2 separate regions of the Homo sapiens genome follow, and region 1 is linked to region 2. The links are contacts of gene promoters, found by promoter capture Hi-C in human tissues and cell types (Jung and others, 2019). All regions are on one chromosome and are shown on one strand. The core of a region is centred on a gene start or on the middle of the fragment in contact, and the rest is flanking DNA. Distances in the headings are between cores, read along the strand shown.

The links. The method cuts DNA at HindIII sites, captures the fragments that hold promoters and counts their contacts. A contact is called where the count stands out against the background at its distance.
Region 1: a contact is called between a fragment that was not itself captured here and the fragment with the promoter of PTPRD in region 2, in 1 of the 25 tissues and cell types used here (dorsolateral prefrontal cortex).

Annotation. Positions count from the first base shown.
Region 1 is chr9:12,462,710-12,465,646 of GRCh38, reverse strand. No RefSeq gene overlaps it. Among named protein-coding and RNA genes, the nearest start is that of TYRP1, 230 kb to the left of the region's middle. RefSeq lists an enhancer at 1,901-2,400. The HindIII fragment of the contact is 4,232 bases long and covers 1-2,937 here.
Region 2 is chr9:10,611,368-10,614,356 of GRCh38, reverse strand. It overlaps PTPRD (protein tyrosine phosphatase receptor type D), which reads left to right and starts at 1,355. Exons shown (of 46, transcript NM_002839.4): 1 at 1,355-1,669; 2 at 1,852-1,959. PTPRD-DT (PTPRD divergent transcript) reads right to left here and starts at 1,151. Exons shown (of 3, transcript NR_110696.1): 1 at 931-1,151. RefSeq lists a silencer at 1,201-1,410. The HindIII fragment of the contact is 2,966 bases long and covers 241-2,989 here.

The DNA.
Region 1 (2,937 bases), core at 356-2,855, 1.9 Mb before region 2:
GACAGTGTATTTTTCAAGTTCTATTGATAGATATGTGCATAAATTTCCAAGACACTTAAGTACCACTACTTAGGTTTCTTTTTTTTAATATATTGCTAATTTTATCTTAGTGCATTAACATTATAAGCCTCTAAGTTTCTTCCTTAAAAATATGCTACCCATCTGCTTCTCCAATATTTTTACACAGGCATTGCTTCTGAAAGTATAGAAACACTTTTCCTGTATCAAGGAAGGTTTGCTTAAGTAAATTAGAGTGGAGAACTGCAGCAATTATGTGAATTCTCTAGTTGAAACATGAATTATTTTTGCTGAAATGTTTGAACATATGTGTTAACAGCAAACCCACTGCTTCAACCAACTTCACTTCCTTAGGTTAGTTTACTCTAAAAACAAATAGTAAATAGTAACATCTGGGTATTAGACATAGAGTAAATCCCATTTCAAGAATTACTCTTTGTACCATAACCCTTTTGCACTACAAAGCCCACAAAAGGGGAGTTTGACTGCTAAAAACTGATAGCATTTTTATTATGGACACCAGATGGCGCTCGTACATCTTGAATTGGCTTTGATCTTTCTTGTTTTAAAATTGTCCCCCTTTCTCCTTTTCAGTAAGAATTTGCTTAAAAGATTAAAGTTCATGTATGTTTTCTCTTATGTAAAACTTAATTGAAAGCTTTCAAGTATTGAGTAAAACTCACAGCCCATTTTCACATTTTTTTTTAGCTTGATTGGACAATATTGTTGACGTCTATTGAATATTGCAGGAATGACTATTAAGAATATCTGTGTTAGTGACCTGAGGGAACAGTCCACACAGTCACTGTCTAATCATTTAGAAATTTAAATTAGTTTAGAAATTATTCTAATTTTTGAAGCCATTTTTGTCCGTATTCCATTCTTCTGTCTTCAATGCCTTGTCGGTGAAAAAAAAATAAAGAGAAAAGAAAAAAAGACACACTGGTAACTAGGAATTACATTTATCCATCATCCACAAGAGAGCCCTGTCTATGTGCAAATGAGTTTTACGTGAAGCCTCATGGGTGCCTGAAATTATTCCTCTTACAAACACTCTCTTGTTCTGCTTCATTCTCACATTTCCAGATCAGTGTCACTTTATTCTGCTTAAACCATCAAACAGATAATAGCATACAATTAGTCACCTTATTATAGGAGCAGCAGCCATTGCTGCTTTCTCTCTCTCCCTGTCTCTCCACTCCATCTCTTTAAATTGATAAGCAACTTTTTACCTTGATGAGGGATGGCATGTTATGAAAGATCTGTTCTATACTCAGTGGCTTTAACACAACCTTTTTTTGCTGGCCTTGAGCCTTTACAGTAGTCTCTTATTTTTCTGGGAATTATAGTTTATCTACCACCTCTGAGATTTCATTATGTTTAAATAGGAGCTTCCCCACCACTCCCAGCAAGCAAGAAACATCTACCTCTGCATTGTATATAATAGAAAACTGATGAAAATTAAACTTGAAAGAAACCTTTGCTTACTTTTTAAAATCCTTTATTCGTTATCTCTGCCTTTTAGTGGAAAGTTGTGGGGAAAATGCAAAATTATTAAATGCAATTTACAGAAAAGAGGCAATGATTACGTCCTTTACAATCTAGTTGACTGTGAGAGTGAAGAGGGTTTTTAAAACCCTATCATATTTCCCCCATGCTAACATGCAAATTGCTCCTCTCATGATAATGAGCACCTTATCTAGCTCAAGATATTTCATTTACAAGCTCACAGTTTTTTCCTGTTAATAGTTGGGAGGATTATTGACCAAAGGGTACTGATTGACTTTGTTATGCTACTAGCAGCACGTGGAATGCAATAATGGGCTTAGAGCTCCAGGCATCTGGAGAATTTTGATACTGTCTTTTCCAGAGGAATCTACTTTACCTTTTGGAAGTATTCCCACACAAGCTACAAAAACGTATTTTCTTTGGAACAGTATCTTGGCAGCTCTTTTCTGAATCATAGAAACTTTGAGCAGAATTAAGCTTAAAATTAAAAGAATAAAAACAACACTTGTTAAAAAATGTATCAAGATTAGGGAAATGTATCAGAGATGAGAGGGCTTTTGGATCATTTTTTCAACTGCCATAACATTAGGTTTCTACAGTGGTCAATCTCCCACCCACTTGAGGAACTGGAACTTCTCCAATTCAATAAGATTTTCTAGAGAGCAGAGGTTTTGTGAGTGATAAGGGATAATACAAGATTACCTAACACAATTCTTACTGGGAGGGAGAGAGGGAGAGAGGGAGGGAGAAAGGAAAGAAGGAAGGAAAGAAGGAAGGAAGAAGAGAGGGAGAGAGGGAGAGAGGGAGGGAGAAAGGAAAGAAGGAAGGAAGAAGAGAGGGAGAGAGGGAGAGAGGGAGGGAGAAAGGAAAGAAGGAAGGAAGAAGAGAGGGAGAGAGGGAAGAGGGAGGGAGGGAGAAAGGAAGGAAGGAGGGAGGGAGGAAAGGAGAGAAGGAGGGAGAGAGGGAAAGAAAGAAGGAAGGAGGGAGGGAGGGAAGGAAGGAAGGAGAGAGGGAGGGAAGGAAGGAAGGAGGGAGGGAGGAAGGAAAGAAGGAGGAAGGGAAAGAGGGAAAGGAAGGATGGAAGAAGGAGGGAAAGGAAGGATGGAAGAAGGAAAGGAAGGATGGAAGAAGGAAAGAAAGAAAAAAGAAAGAGAAAGAAAGAAAGAAGAGAGAGGAAAAAAAGAGAGAAAGAAAACTGCAGTAGTAGTGTCTGGTGACTTCAAAAACAAAAAAGTCACAACCCAAACAAACCAAAATTTAAATGATCAAAATTGGCAGCACAAAGAAAATGTCCTCTCCTAACTAGTATTGTGGCAGTCTGAACACCCCCCGAAAATCATGCCAAAGAGTTTAGAAAAACAATAAAAGTAAACACACGCATACACACAAAACAGCAAATTTCTGGTAACT
Region 2 (2,989 bases), core at 106-2,605:
GCAAAGGGACACAGCAAGCAGTGGAGAAGGTATGAAAAGAAAAAGGTGAAGGGACCCTGGGGAAAATTCCACCTATAGTGACTAAGCTTTATTTCTCTTCGGGAGAAAGTGACATTTCTGCGATTAGATCATTGACATATAAGGAAAGTAGATGGATAACTGGTTTTTCGTTGTTCTTTTTTTATTTGTTTTCTTCTACAGTGCTTACAGAACCTTTGACCAGATGGTACCTGGAATGCTCTGTGTTGCATATTACAAACAGGATAATTATTTTGGCTTTTTAGAAAACGCACCGACATGGTGACATTGCTCTCTGTTTATCAAGAGACAGAGCATTTGTTGCCTATAGCTGTATGCTCTGATGAGACATGAAAGATAGTAAAATGACAAAAAGCTTCCTGCTGTTTTTCTCTCATCCTGCCCCTTCTTCTCCCCCCAGCTCCAAACCTTATTTCTAGTTTCGCTGGGGGTCTAAGTTCCTCCTCCCCTGTCTCCCGAGTCTGTGGTACACCACATCTGATGCACTCCGATACCCCACTCTACCTTGGGGTAAGGAGGAGGTGGGGAAGAATCCGCTCCCTGCATCCATGTCCTCTCCTCTGCAGCGAGGCATATTCTCAGCAACTCTTGTACAGGTTTTCCCTTCTCAGCTACCACCTTGGCAGAGCTCTATCCCTCCCTCAAGCCCAGCCAGACTGCCAAGCGCCCCGACTGAAAACTCCATCCAGCTCAGCCGAAGTACACCCCCTCCGCCAAGCAACCCCTGTGCCCCTGCCCTTCACCTCCCTAAGTCTGCTCTTCATAAGCATCGATTCCATTGCAAATCAAATGTACGTCCCCCAGCTATTAACACCCACTACCCCTTAGGTGTTACCGACAGCCTCCCTCGGAAAATAATAATAATAATAATAACCGAAAGCACGCGAACACCTGAAGAAGCACAGATCGGGATCCGCATCTGGACCAGTCCTCTGTGGCTATAGTGATGGGGAATAGCCTGTGCCTGACATATCCTCCTGTTCCCGCGCGAACCGCTTTACCCTGGATCCCTGGAATCGTGCCTAGGCACCCGGGCGGCGGGGTCCGCCCAGGCCGCGTCAGGCAGCTCTGGGCCGGTGGGTGCCGGGTCTCCCCTCCTCCCGCCCCATCTGGCGCGCCCGCAGCGCCGCCGCCGCCGCCGCTTCTCTCCCCAGCGGGCGCTCGGAGCATCCCGCGCCGCGTTCTCCCCGCCCCGGCCCCCGCCCGCCGGAGCGGGGCCCACGCCGCTGGCAGCCATCAAGTGGCTCGTTAAGGAAATGCAGGTGAGTGCGTGAGGCCGAGCGGCAGCTGCTGGAGACGTGGGGTGTGTGCCTGTGAGTGCGAGCGAGACGAGGAGGGAGCGCCAGCGAGCGAGCGAGCGAGTGCGGGAGCGGCCGCCTCGGCTCCCCGCCCAGCCGCGCCCGCAGCCGGCGGCCGGAGCGCGTGGGGGCAGCGCCTCGCCCCGACAGAGCCTCGCCTCCTCCTTGCCGTCTCGGCTGCTTCTCCGAGGAGCCGGGAGCCGCTCATCGGCCTCCCCAACCCTGCGCTCCCCTCCCAGCCCGAGTCCTCCCGCTGCTCTTTCTCCTCCTCCTCCCGAGCCTCCTCCCCTCCGGCGCGGCGCCGCCAGCCAGCCTCGGCGGGGAGAGTGCAGGTACTTTGCCTTCAGAATAATTAGCAGGACCCAAGCCGGCTTTCCGAGCGCGCTTTCTTTTTCTTCCTTTGCCCCCTCCCTCCGGAAAAGAAGATCCCACTTTTGAAACAATCAGAAATCGAAGCACCCCACCAAAGCCAAACCCTGACGGGCTGCTGTGCATGTGCCATCCCTTTTTGCAGTTTATTCTGGGCCTGTGTGGAATAGAAAGACAATTCTTTATTTGACTGGTAGGAAAGAAAAGAGAAGACTCCTCAGGGTTTCCAAGGAGGACTGGAGCGGCTGCTTTAGTAAGTAAACTGTGCTTCTGTCTTTCTTTTCTCTAAAGTGAAGCATATGCTGATGCTTTTCAATGCCCAATGTCCAATGCTGTGGACAGTTTATTCATTTTACCTGGGAATAACTTGACTTATATAACTTCAGTAGCTCCTATTTGAGAAGTGGTTCGCTAAGCATTTTTTTCTTTTTTTTTTTTTTTTGGAAGAGCCCTTAGAAGACTTCGATATGGGATCAGTATGGGCAGCCTTACTGGAAAACTGATTTTTAAACGTTTATTGTTCAAGGGCTATTGGAAGCCTGCTTTGTTAAACATTGGTTGGTTCTAAGATTTAAGGGTGGTTATCTAGAAAAAGCTTGAAAAATCTAACCCTACTGGCTCACTTCTCCTGCCACCTTCAACCTCAGCCCTAATCCATGCTAACTCCCACCCTACTCTGACTTCAGTTGGTTGGTTGTTTTATCTTTAGTTCTGAAAAGCTCTAGAAAAAAAAAGGGGGGGGGGGCGGAAAAGGGAAAGTTAATAAGGATGGTTTGAAAGACCAGATGAAAATTCTGTTGCGATTTCTTCATGCCTGTAAGGAGATAATAATTGGAGGAAAATCCTGGAACTAGAATAGTTGGAGAATTAGAATGAACTTAATTTGGAGAGAGAATGTGAAAAATACTTTGGAGAGGGCAGGGCTGAGACTGTGACTTTGACACAGCGGGTTATAAACTCTGACAGGGCTCAGCAGCCAGTGACAGGTTTAAGGTGTCTCCTAAGGCTGAATATCTCTGCATCAAAAACTTTTGCAGGCAGTATTCCTCTTGGGGCTAACATCACCATGTCAGTAGCTGTAGCATTTCTTTTTACAGAAGTAGGACACTCTTCTTTCTACAAAAGGGTTAATAAGTTCATTATACATATATATAAAAAACATGTAGTCTAACATTTGCCAATATTTTGTAATATCTAAATAAAACCTTTGTGTTATGTCAGGAAAAATATAGTTGACTCAGTTTGTTTTGCACAAGAGGGAGAGAATCAATAACATTTCAGCA